Regions from separate parts of the Homo sapiens genome. Here regions 1 and 2 are each linked to region 3. Evidence: promoter capture Hi-C in 16 types of primary human blood cells and fetal thymus (Javierre and others, 2016). All regions are on one chromosome and are shown on one strand. Each heading gives the region's core, a stretch centred on a gene start or on the middle of the fragment in contact. The rest is flanking DNA. Distances are from core to core; before and after follow the strand shown. Region 1 has its middle 19 kb from the start of SAMD13. Region 2 overlaps SAMD13 (sterile alpha motif domain containing 13). Region 3 holds the start of DNASE2B (deoxyribonuclease 2 beta).

Region 1 (4,140 bases), core at 673-3,172, 120 kb before region 3:
TGATACCAAGTTGTTTGTACTAGTTTACCATTTTTTTACTTCTCTGAATTTTTTTAATTCCTAACATTTTTGTTGTCATCTTTGTCTTCTTCTTCCTCCTCTTCCTCCTTCCTCTTTCTCCTTTCTTTTAGTTCAACCAGGCCAGATCAATGAATTTTACTCACTTCTTCAAAAACCTTAATTTTGGCATTGTTGATCTTTTTTATTTTATACTTTTTTCTATTACATTAATTTCTAGGCTTATCCTTATTATTTTCTTTCTTCTGCTCTCTTTAAATTAATTCTATTTTGTAAAATAATTTCTCATGAATGCTTAGCTCAGCAATATTCAGCCTTTCTCAGTTTCTAGTATAAGCATTTATGACTTAAAATTCCCTCCAAGCCTCTTTTAACCATTTGTTTTAGTGAAGTTGGTAAAGTGGATTTTATTATTGTTTGATCCTAAACATTTTCTATTTTGCATTATGATTTACTCCTTGATTGATGAGTTATTCAAAAGTTTCTGAATTTTCTAAATTTTTAAAACATAACCTTTTAGCTAAAGATATCTTTATTAATTGAATTGTGGTCAAAAATATAATGTGTTTAAGATGAGTTTCTTAAAAGTGGTTGAGACTTGATTTATAGCCTAATTCATGATAAATTATTGTAGTGTTTCTTGCATAACCAAAACTAATTTGTATACCTTAATTTGGAGTGTAGAAATATATATGTTCAGTAGATTAGCTTTCTGTATTGCTTAAATTAATCATATCCTTAATGCTTTAGTTCCATTTTACCTATCAATTATTGAGATATATATATTTAATGACTCACAATAGTGGAGAATTCAACAGTATCTCCTTGTAAGTATGTCAAATTCCCCTTTATCTTATTGAAGTTAGGTTATCAAGTTTTAAACTTTAGAATTTTTTCCACCTGGGGAGTTAAACCTCTTATCATTATTAAATAATCTCTTTTGTCTATCATAAGGTTTTTTTGCCATAAAATCTATTTTACATTTTATATATATAGACATTCCAACTCTTTTTTCTTAATATTTGCTTAAAATATATTTTTCTATTCTTTTACTTTCAACTATTCTTTCTCAATGTCTTAGGTATGTCTCTTATAGAAAGCACAAACATAGATTTTGTTTCTTTTATCCAATAGATTTTGTTTTTTTTAATCCAATCTCACAGCTTCCCTTTCAACTGGGTTTATTTCATTGATAAATTTACTCCTGTCATCAGTTTTTTAACTTTCTATTTTTTCTGGCTTTCCTGTTTCTTTTTTCTCCTTCTTGCCTCTTTTCAATTGATTAAATTAATTTTTTCTTTTTTTTTTCGAAATGGAGTTTCTCTCTTGTCGTCCAGGCTAGGGTGCAATGGCGTGATCTTGACTCATTGCAACCTCCGCCCCCTGGATTCAAACAATTCTCCTGTTTCAGCCTCCCGAGTAACTGGGACTAGAGGCACGCCCGTCACCATAATACCCGGCTAACTTTTTTTGTATTTTTAATAGAGATGCGGCTTCACAATGTTGGCCAGGCTGGTCTTGAACTCTTGACCTCAGGTGATCCGCCCACCTTGGCCTCTCAAAGTGCTGGGACTACGGGTGTGAGACACCGCGCCGCCCGGCAGATTAAATTTCTTAAGTCCCAACTTTCCCCCTCTAGTTTTGAAGGTATAGGCTTTACTTCTCTTCTGTTAAGCAGTTCCTTTGAAATCAGAACATGGATACTTAAACCTAACAAACTCTACATTTACAATCTTTATAATCTTCCCAAATATGCAAAGAGCTAAGAATGTTTTAATGCCTATCAGCACTTCCACTTTACCAGCTATTATTTCTGAACCCCACAAGTTACGCTTCATTATTTATTTATATGGTTTTCACCAGCAGTATGTTTACCCAACAGTTTGTCTTTTACTTTACTCAGTGTGTTTTTTGTATCTCAGACTTTCCTTTTCAGATCATTTTCCTTCTGCTTGAAGACATGCTAAGAAGTTCCATTATTAAGAGTTTTTTAATGTTAAACTTTTTAAGTGTTTATCTAAACAGCCTCTATTTCATCCCCATGTTGAAAAATAGTTGTGGCAGAGAAAGTCAGTATTACTGAATATCCATGTGATTATATTTCCCACTCTCCCTTGCAGTTAGTTTGGGACCTTGTGACTTATTCTGGCCAATGAACTATGACTAGAAGTGATAGGTTTCACTACTAGACAAAGACAGCTGGGACCTGTGCTCCTGCGCATCCCCTTTCCCTTCTGCAGTGATCTCACATGTCCCTACAGCCCTGGATGTTGGAGTTACAGAGGGCAGCACTCTCTCAGCCTGAGTCCCTAGTAATGGTGTGAGCAGAGCTCCATACAACCCATGCTGGATGTGTAACTTGAAATGTTTCAGAGTTAATTGTTGATTGATGTGAGAGGCCACAGAGGTTTCAGAGTTAATTTTTTACCAAAGCATAATGTAACATATTGTGACCAATAATTTTAATGGGTAAATAATTCTATTTGAGAGTTACTCTCTCAATACATTAAAAATATTTTCCCACAATCTTCTGTCTTCTTATGTTTTTGTTGCTGAGAAGTCAACTATCTAATTTCCATTCCTTTATTGGTAATTTTATTTTCTCTTCAGTTAATTTTAATGTCATCTTTGTCTTTGGCATTCTGAAGTTTTCTAACAATGTGTTTGGGGTGTGTGTGTGCATGTGTGTGTGTGTGTGTGTGTGTGTGTCTCTGTGTGTGTGTCTCAATTTATCTGTCTTACTAGGAATCTTTTGGGGTTTTGGAATTTGAGGTTATCTTTCATCAATTCTAAGAATGTCTCATTCATTGTCTCTTCAGTTATTGCCTCATCCTCTCCTCTGTTATTGCCTCTTAAAAAACTTTGGTTACAGACATTGAAGCGTTTCACTCTATCCTCCAAGTCCCTCAGCCTCTCTGTCATATTTTCCAGCTTCTGTCTCCTTGTGCTGCATTCTGTGTAAGGTCTTCCAGTCTATAATTGCCACTCTCTAATTCTCTCTTCGGCTGTGGTCTTGTCTACTGTTAATTCTTCCACTGAGTTTTTAATTCCAATCTGTTTATTTTTTATTTATAAGTTCTATTTTGTTCTTTTTCAGATATGATAGACATTTTTATGGTCTTTTTCTTCTTCCTTGCATTTATATTTCTATTATATATTTTACTTTTAAATTTATCCTTGCATTTAAAAGATTTATATATTTTATTACTCATGTTAAGTTCTTCAGAGTAGGAGAAGTCCCCTCTCTATATTTTTACTTGTATTTTTATTATTTCAGATTGTTTATACCTTGGGATATAAGGAACATATCCCTCGGTCCTTCCCTGTCCCTAGATGCCTGATTCCTTTAGGATACCCACTATTTTAAGTAAACCAATATCACCTTATATTTGCTGTTTAATATATCTTTCCCTTGTCAGTGAGCTTGTCTTCAACTGGTCATCCTTCTACAAAAAACTTCATTATTTTAATTCAGAAGGTTTATGATTCTTTCTAATGCTCAGAGACCTGCCCCTCTTTCCATATTTCTAGACTGCTGCTGTATTTTGGAGAATGTCCAAAAGTTTGACCTTTGGATAAAGGGATGAGGCTGTACAAATTTTGCTTCTTAATACCATCTGCCTAGGAATAAAAACCTCTAGATAGGAAGAAATAAAGGAAGGAAGAAAAGAAGACAACTTTTGGAAAAATCTGTAAATCTAAGAGGGCATGGAATACAGGACATATCCTGTATTCCAGTGATGACTTTTCAATGACTAGCGGTGGTTTCCACAGAGAATTCGGTTTCCTTATCCATACTTTGCTATAAATCTTGGCATATCAACTACCTAAAATTATCATGCATTTCTAACCGATTTATAGCTAATAATATATGTCACTCCAATTCTTATAGTAAGTATAGGTATCACCCATTTTGTAAACTTTCTAAACTAAATCATCTCAGTAATGTTCATTTATTACATATGATAAAACAGATCCCACACTGAGGAAGAAGAAAAGAAAGAAGAAGAAGAAGGAGGGGAAGGAGGGGAAGGAGAAGAAGGAGAAGAAGTCAGAAGAAGAAGAAGGAGGAGGAGGAAGAGGAGGAGGAGGAAGAAGAGGAAGAAGAAGAAGAAGAAGAGG
Region 2 (4,470 bases), core at 838-3,337, 74 kb before region 3:
AAACTGCCATTGAAAATCTTCAAGTGTTCTAGGCAGGCGGAACTAACCAGCCCTCCCTTACGTAAATACGTCCTCAACAGCACTTTGTTCACCCCTCGATTCGAATATTCCTCAGAGCTAGCTGTTTCCACATCTGGTTTCCCTCACCAGATTGCCGGCTCCTTGAGGGCAGGGACTATGCATTCCCTGTCCTTGTAACCCTGCATCTAGCATAATACTGAGAAGACAGGCTTTTAATAAATATCTGTTGTGTCAATGAATAAGTATAGTGGAAAAAAAGCAGAGACTTGGAGGCAAGCATATCCGGAATCCAATCCTAGCTTTATCTACCATGCTATTTGGGGTGTGTTTCTTAACCTTTCTGAGCCTTCGTTTCCCAAAAGCAGGTTACAGTAGCCAGTTCACAAAGAGGTGGGAGGCTGATACTGAGTAACGTGTGAAAAACAGATTTTAAGTTGTAAGTGCTCTCTGGTTGTTAGTCCATTGTAATACTTTGCTGTGTATCAACTGTGCACCAGTCAGACTGTGCTAGGTGCTGGTGCTACAAAGATGAAGATAGGTTTTTCTTCTCAGGATATCGATAGTCTAATGTGATTTTTTTCCTGGTTATTTTGGCTTTGGGGGGATATCAGGCTTTTAAACTTAGGTAGATCAATCATTAAATGTATTGGTTGGTTTCTAACCCCTTGTTTCTTCTGGGTGAATTCCCTTACCCTCCATATGAAAGAGTGCCCCGTTCCACGTTGCTGCTATTCATGGTACACTGCCAGCAGTTTTACAAGTCTTTCTTCTCTGTGGCATTGCTATACTCAAGAATATTTCAAAATTATGGAAGTCATGATGTTATATCCCACTAGAATAAAAATCAGGAAAGCCTCCCATCTTAAAATTACAATGTAGCTTATTTTGTTATTACAATTGAATATTCTTTTTAAAATGTTTTATTTTAGGTTTGGGGGTACATGTGAAGGTCTGATAACTATTCTTGGTGAGGAAAGGCGACTAACTGAAGTCAACCACAGGGAGATTGAATTCAGATGTTTTCTGGGGGCACTTAAAAGTGTGTTCGATGGGACTCTGTGTTCACTACCAGAAGTGAGCTAATTAGAAAACTGAAAAGATTTGTTGGAACAATGAACTCCTTTCTGAACATTCTTCAAGGACACCTTAAGAGAGAGGGAAGGAAAATGGTAGCTTGAAGAGGGTCCTCAGTGCCAGTTGCTGATTGCTTATGTTGCTAGTGTATGGAAAATTCCAGCACATAGATAATTTTTTTTAAAATTTACTATTGATTTAAAAACACATAGTTAATATTTAGTAACATTAGGGTGAAAAATAGTTTTCTTCTCGATGTATATTGCCTGTTAAATGGTAGGAAGATTGTGTGTGTGCATGTGTGCATATGGGTATGTGTGTATACAGGCATGCAGTGGTTATAGATTCACCATCTTTAAGCCCAAAAGAGAAGACATTTAGAGTATTGGCTTTAGGTGTTTTTAAATTAGGTGCTGTTGAGAAATTAACGATCACATGTGCCATCGATCAGTGACTCCCTTTAACTAGTACAGAAGTTGGTTTGGTTTTCTTAAATCAAATATTTTAGGTTCCTGCTATGGGCAAAACATTATGCTGGGGGATGAGGTGGCTGGATCCTTGACTCTTAGACCTTTAAAGACCTTCAGAAATCTCTCCAAATCTAGCCAATTTTGTTTCCACTAAAAGTAACCTGGATGTTTTCAACTTCCACTAAATATTGAACCTCTCAAGCTTAGTTCTAGGCCCAGCTCTCTTCTCCTCCTCTCTCAAGATTTCAGTTACTGTCTAAATGCCTCTGTCTCCCACAGGTGTACCTAGCCCACTCTTCTGCTTTGTGCTGTAGACTTATAGCCCACATTAAATCTCCACTTGGATATAGACAGTACACCAAATTTAGCATGTTTAGCTGGATGGATGTTACCACCATCCATCCAATTCCATGACACTTCTACTCCCTCCATTCTCTATGTCTGGTCTAGCACTAAGTTACACTGATTTTATTCATTAACTCTCTTTTAAATCCACACACTCCTCTTGTTTTTCACATACACCACCCTAGTCTACGCATGATCTCTGGGTTGCATGACTGCAATAGACTTCTCACTGGCTTCTTCCCCACTGGCTCCTCTCCAGCATCCTCTTTTTCAAAATGTGAATCTGATCAGGTCACCCCCTTTACATAGGACCATTCAACAGCTCCTCATTGCTCTTAGCAAAAATCCAGAATCCTCAGTGTGGCCTCCAAGACCTGCATGGCTCCCTTGGCTGTATGTGTTTCTGTCACAGGGCCTGGAATATTCTTCATGTGACTTCTTCATACAGTTAATTTCTGGCTGTCTTTTAGATCGTACCTGAAAAGAAACTCCCACGGGAAAGCTTCCCCTATCCCTTTAACTATCATAGTAAATGATGCTTGTCCTTCTTAGCATTTAGCATAACTTGCCGCTGTACATTTACTTGTATGATTATTGATCAGTGTCTACTCCCCACAGGACTGTAAGGCCCGTAAGAATAAGGGTGGTGTCTGTTTTGCTCTCCAGTGTATTCCTAGTTGGAGAGAGGAGAGGCTTTGTCCTGAGGGACCTCCAAAGCAAAGTTAGGCTATGTGATTGGATGTACACTCTGGGAAAATCATCTTGGATGAGGTATAGAGAAAGCCAGACAAATACTCCCAACGCAGAAATGAGGCAGAGTCCCAGTAACTGCAGGTCATTACCAGTCTTTCTTTATTCTACTTCTCCTTTCCCTCCTCTCTGAATCCAATGAGGAGCATTACCCATAGACCCACTCAGACAAATGCTTGATTGTTATCTTGTCATCTGTTTATTTATTTGAACAATATGGGTTAAGTTCCTAAGTACACACTTGATACTAGGAATAATAAAATGAGAAGTGGTCCGGGCTCAAATGCATTTCTCCAACCTGCATCTCCCACTCTAGTGGGAGAGACTGTTCAATAAACAGAGGGTATAATTCAGTGTGGAAGGTGCTACAATGGGAGTTTGAATGAAGTTCTAGAAGTCAAAGGAGGTTATGACTAAAACACACCCTTGGAAGAGCCAGAAAAAATGCTTCAAAGAGGAGGTAGTTTTGTATTGGTAGAAATGGTAGAGTTTTGTCCAATAGAGACAGGTGTGGGGGCATTGTAAGTGGCTGGGACAGAATGTGCAGAGGCTCAGATCTATGAAAGGACTTGGCCTATTGTGGAAGGGCTTTATCCCTAGATGTGTGGGGATGGGGCTAGGGAAGGTGTTAGGAAGACAGGAAGAGAGAGCGGTATGTTGAGGTCATATCGTAAAAGGCCAGGTGTTCTGAACTCAGAAGTATGAATATCATACTCTGGGCTGCCAGCAGTCACTGGACCACTCTCAATGTCTCTGGATTAAAAACCAGAGGAAATAATTTACATTAAATGTCAAATGGTTTATTAGCAGTGACTAAGCCAGTGAGAGTAATCATCATCTGAACCCAAAAAACATGAAAGGCCTGTCCCAGAAGACCCATTTGTGAGCCTGGCCACACCCTTGTGCAGGCACTGCCATGACAACTGTCTGGATTTGTGTTTTGCAGTTCCATGGAAAATGGGAGACCACCTGATCCTGCAGACTGGGCCGTGATGGATGTCGTCAATTATTTCCGAACCGTGGGATTTGAGGAGCAAGCTAGTGCTTTTCAGGAACAGGTAACTTGGTCTAGAGAAACACGTGATGAACATGTGATGAACCCACAGTTACCTCCCTTCCCAACAGTGGGCAGAAGGGAGTGAGGAGGAAGAGGACCAAAGAGCAGGGAGGAATCAGTGAGGCTCTGAGAAACTGAGGGGAAGGAGAATGGATGTACCAGGTGAATTATCCCTTTGTGCAAGGGGAAAACTCAAAGCCGGAGACAGTGGCAGCTGTGGAGAAGAAGGCTAAAGCTCATTTACATCTGTGTCCTCTGAAAGACTGATCATACTCAAGGGTGGAGTGAATCAGCCCTACCTTCAATGAAAACACACTAGAAAGCAGGAAACAGAAAAGAAAGGAAAAGCAGGGACAAACCTGACTGAGAGACATACACCACCTCCTACTACTGGCCTCAGCACCCAATGGACTATTAAGCCCTTTGCAGTTTGCTTTCTGGGTGCTTAGCAAGGTAGAGTGGAAAAAGCACAGGATTGATAGTCGAATCCTGGTTCTTCTATCTCTATGTGACCCTAGGCACGTTACTATGTCTCTCTGAGTCTTGGTTTCATATCTATAACATCAGACTGTCAATAACTTTATAGGGATGTTGTTGTGAGGATTAGTGGACAATATACACACAGTGCCTATGATAGGTTCTGGCATAGTGTTGATACTCAAAAAATGGGATTTCCTTTTCCTCAGGTCCAGGGATGGTATTAGAAAGAGGGAGAAAGTGGCAGGAGTCCATCCCAATTGTCTAGGTGATTCA
Region 3 (4,237 bases), core at 1,209-3,708:
CTTACAGGAAAAGCTCAGGTTGTAGTAAGAATAATCTTAGCTAACATTTATGAATCACTTACTATTACCAGGCACTGTGCTAAGTGTAATAAGGAGAAGAAAAAAGGAATGATTTTAAATCCTACTCAACAAACTGTCTTTAGCCCTACATAACTGAAAACAATTTGCTTACATTCTCTAAATGCATCAGTGAATCCTACTGGTATGTTTCTATTATTAGTTGTAATACCAAAAAGTCTCACAGGTAAATAAATAAGTAAATAAATAAAATTATTTTGGCCTGGTGCAGTGGCTCACACCAGTAATCCCAGCACTTTGGGAAGCTGAGGCGGGTAGATCATCTGAGGTCAGGAATTTGAGACCAGCCTGGCCAAAGGTGAAACCCCATCTCTACTAAAAATACAAAAATTAGCCGGGCCTGGTGGTGGGCACCTGTAATCCCAGCTACCCAGGAGGCTGAGGTGGGAGAACCACTTGAACGTGGGAGGTGGAGGTTGCAGTGAGCTGAGATTGCACCACCGCACTCCAGCCTGGGCGACACAGCAAGACTCTGTGTTTACTTTAACAGAGAAGAGTAATCTCTCTCTCTCTCTCTCTCTCTCTCTCTCTCTCTCTCTCTCTCTCTCTCAGTATACATACATACATACATACATACATATATATATATATTTGAGACAATCTCACTCTGTCACCCAGGCAAAAGTGCAGTGGTACCATCATGGCTCACTGCAGCCTCCACTTCCTGGGCTCAAGCAATCCTCCCACCTCAGCCTCCTGAACAGCTGGGACTACAGGCATGTGCCACTATGCCCGACTAATTTTTTTTTTATTGTTTGTAGAGATACATTCTTGCTATGTTGCCCCGGCTGGTCTTGAACTCCCAGGCTCAAGCAATCCTCCTGCCTTAGCCTCCCAAAGTTTTGGGATTACAGGCATAAGCCACTGCGTCCAGCTGATAATTTTTAAAAAAACTTTTAAAAATTGACAAAAAGGTTGGGGTTGTTGAAATCCTTTTTTCTGAACACAGGAAGAAAATATATAAAACAAAATGAGAACAGGCACAGTGGTTCATGCCTGTAATCCCAGCACTTTGGGAGGCCGAGGTGGATGGATTCCCAGGCCGAGGTGGGTACACTCCAGCCTGGGCAACAAGAGCAAAACTTCATCTCAAAATAATAATAATAATAATACCAATGGAGGAATGGGTAAGAAAAATATTTCTTCATTTAACCTGCAGAAAGCTGTGAATCTACCAAATACAGCATAGTCTTGGCCTCAGGGCAGTGAGTTTCAAACTTTAGGGTACACCAGCATCACCAATAAGCTTATTAAAAATATAGATTCTTGAGCCCAACTGGAAGAATTCTGATGTAGCAGGTTTGGAATAAGTCCTAGAATTCTGCCTTTTTTGCAGGCACCACAGGTAATTGGGCAGGTGGTACAGAGTCCTCCTCCCAAAACTCTGTCTTAGGATAGAGACACAAGCCTTCCCCTTTTCTATGAATCCTGAGAATTGTGAACAGTTCTAGTGCAACCACAGAGGTAATCTGATTTACAAGGGTTCAGTTTGGTCTGGATCCTCTGATCTGGAACTATTATAGTTATCATTGTGATTATCAGAGAGACAGATTAGGGGCAGCATTATTTCCAGGCATGATGTAAACTGCTATTTATTATGATGGCAGCTTTAATAATTGATGCAAAAGTATGCATTAAAGAAATTATTTTCATATGTCTATCTACTCCTTCCCTGATTCACAAAGAAATTGGTCTCACCTTTTTATAGTTGTTATGGTAGTGGGCCATTTTATTTTGGTTTTCTACTTCAGATTCAGCTTCGAGAATGAGAAAGCATAGTTTGGGCAAAATAGATGTTTGTAACATTTTTTATTAACCTGAAGAGTGGGTGATCAATATGTTTACCTATTGCATAGCAGCCTGAAGCACCACATTGAGTGGCTAAAACCAGGAAGATGGAGAGAATATGTAAACATCTTTGGTAAAATACAGTTAAATTTACTGTTACTTTGAAGCAACCCTTTGAAGTATCCCTTAGCAACTGGTTCCTTAAGACAGAGATTATTAAGTGACAGATCCTAATTATTACTAAGACATAAGGTTTTATCATTTCTGTTTAATGTACGAACCACCTGCATTTGCTCTCATTCATTGAGTCAAACAGGAGAAGACATGAAATATATTTAACATCTACTTATTAAAATGAAGTCCCCCTGCCCAATGAATTTCATACAACAATGTTCACTCCAAAGAGTGAACTATCTTTCCCTATTTTTCTGCAGAACTTTTTGATGACTTTGCAAACCAGTCAACAATTCAGCACAAAGGCATCCAGAGTCACGCTGGCATGTTGTGACAGAATCGCACAATTACATGGGATCCATCCCACTCTGAAAATGCCCCGAACAGCGAACAGCACAGGTAAATCAAATCAAACGTCAGAGCCAGCACAGCCTGAGAGCGCCTTGAAACTCAGACTCCACAATCTATGGGGAAAGTGTCCTGCTGTGGCATGAAATAAATGAAACAGAAAATGATGGCAAGACTGCTAAGAACATCCTTTGCTTTGCTCTTCCTTGGCCTCTTTGGGGTGCTGGGGGCAGCAACAATTTCATGCAGAAATGAAGAAGGGAAAGCTGTGGACTGGTAGGTAAATGAAATGGAAGGACTGCTGCATGCAAACAGCCTCGGTACAGAGTTGGCCTGGCTCACTGCGAAGTTCCTAAGGGGAATGTCCATTCTCTTTCCTCCCTTTACAAATAAAGGAAGTTAAAGTGTGCAAATCGGCCAAACTCCCAGGCAGGGGTAGGCTTCTGAGTGACGGAGTTTCCCCCTGAAAAAGAGCTGAGCAGCCCCTCTTGGGCCTGATTCACTGTTCTCAGCGGGGCAAGGCTGGTAGCCACAGAAGTGGGATTGAGCTGACAGCTTCTGTGAGCTGGCAATTTCTTTTAATTACATCATGGCTTTTCCTAACAGAACACTTCCAACATCCTTTGAAAGACTGACAGAGTAAAGAAGGCAGATTATTTTTTTCTGAAAATGGAGCATGTGCTGCTCCTTATGAGAAAGAGAAGGGGGACCTGGTCACACACAGCACTGTTTGCCTAACATCGGTTTGTTTGGAAGCAGAGGCAGCTGTTGCCATGATTGGTACGTAGGCCACTGGCCTGTTGTACAGTGTCAAAGACATTAAATGCTGTGTTGCATTATAGTCATGGGTTCTCCTAAAGCTTTAACTACTTTTTCACCCTTTAATTGGGATATTTAGGTTTGCCATAATGGTTGGTGTCAAGCTTTTTGTGTAAACTTCAGGCTACAGAACACAGATATACTCAAGGCAGTAGTCAGTCTTTCCTCAGTTACTGAGCTCAACAGAGGTCTGTGTGGAGTTTTGAAAATATAAATATGAACGAAACATGGTTCCTACCCTCAAGGACCTCACAGTTATGTGGTAAGGGCATAGGTGGAACACTGGGGAACAGAGAGCCCAGAAAACTTCTCTAAGGATGTAATTTTTGAGCTAAGTTTTAAGAACAATTAAGAAGTAGCTGGAAAAAGAAGGGATGTGCAAGAGCATCTCAGGCCAATGAAGGAGCAATGAGGAGGTAGAGAGGCAAGAAGCAACATGGAAATTTGGGAGTTGCAAAGTAGTTTGGTATTGCTGGAACTTCAGGAGAATACAGGAAGATGACCGGAGGTGAGGTTAGAGAGGTGGGGACAGCCAAGGGGTCTGTGTGCTGAGCTACAAGGTTTGAACTTGACATTGAAAGGGAGCTATTGGAGGACTTCACGCAGGGGTGTGAATGGTCAGATTTGCACTTTAGGAAACCCATTGGCAGTACTATGAGGGCTGGATGGATGGGGAGCAGCCTAGAATCACTGAGACCAGGAGCACTTTTGCAGCATTACAGGTGAGAAGAGGTGTAGACCTGAGTTAAAGAAGCGGTCATGGAAATAGAAAGAAGGACATGCTGAGAAGACTTGGTGATGGATGGGCTGCAGCCAGTAGGAGAAAGGGAGATGTTAAGAAATAATTTTAGGTTGGCCAGGCGTGGTGGCTCACGCCTGTAAGCCCAGCACTTTAGGAGGCCTAGGCAGACAGATCACCTGAGGTCAGGAGTTCAAGACCAGCCTGACCAACATGGAGAAACCCCATCTTTACTAAAAATACAAAATTAGCCAGGCATGGTGACGCATGCCTGTAATCCCAGCTACATGG

The links. Contacts are between HindIII fragments. The CHiCAGO score rates a contact against its expected background, and 5 or more counts as called.
Region 1: a fragment that was not itself captured here is called in contact with the fragment with the promoter of DNASE2B in region 3 in 1 of 17 cell types (M2 macrophages); the score reaches 7.5 in M2 macrophages.
Region 2: a fragment that was not itself captured here is called in contact with the fragment with the promoter of DNASE2B in region 3 in 4 of 17 cell types (M0 macrophages, M1 macrophages, M2 macrophages and 1 more); the score reaches 8.3 in M0 macrophages.

Annotation. Positions count from the first base shown.
Region 1 is chr1:84,280,784-84,284,923 of GRCh38, forward strand. No RefSeq gene overlaps it. Among named protein-coding and RNA genes, the nearest start is that of SAMD13, 19 kb to the right of the region's middle. The HindIII fragment of the contact is 5,301 bases long and covers 1-4,140 here.
Region 2 is chr1:84,322,031-84,326,500 of GRCh38, forward strand. SAMD13 (sterile alpha motif domain containing 13) reads left to right here. Exons shown (of 4, transcript NM_001134663.2): 3 at 3,607-3,718. Among named protein-coding and RNA genes, the nearest start is that of SAMD13, 23 kb to the left of the region's middle. The HindIII fragment of the contact is 645 bases long and covers 1,766-2,410 here.
Region 3 is chr1:84,396,026-84,400,262 of GRCh38, forward strand. DNASE2B (deoxyribonuclease 2 beta) reads left to right here and starts at 2,459. Exons shown (of 6, transcript NM_021233.3): 1 at 2,459-2,664. The coding sequence starts at 2,540. The HindIII fragment of the contact is 1,924 bases long and covers 1,323-3,246 here.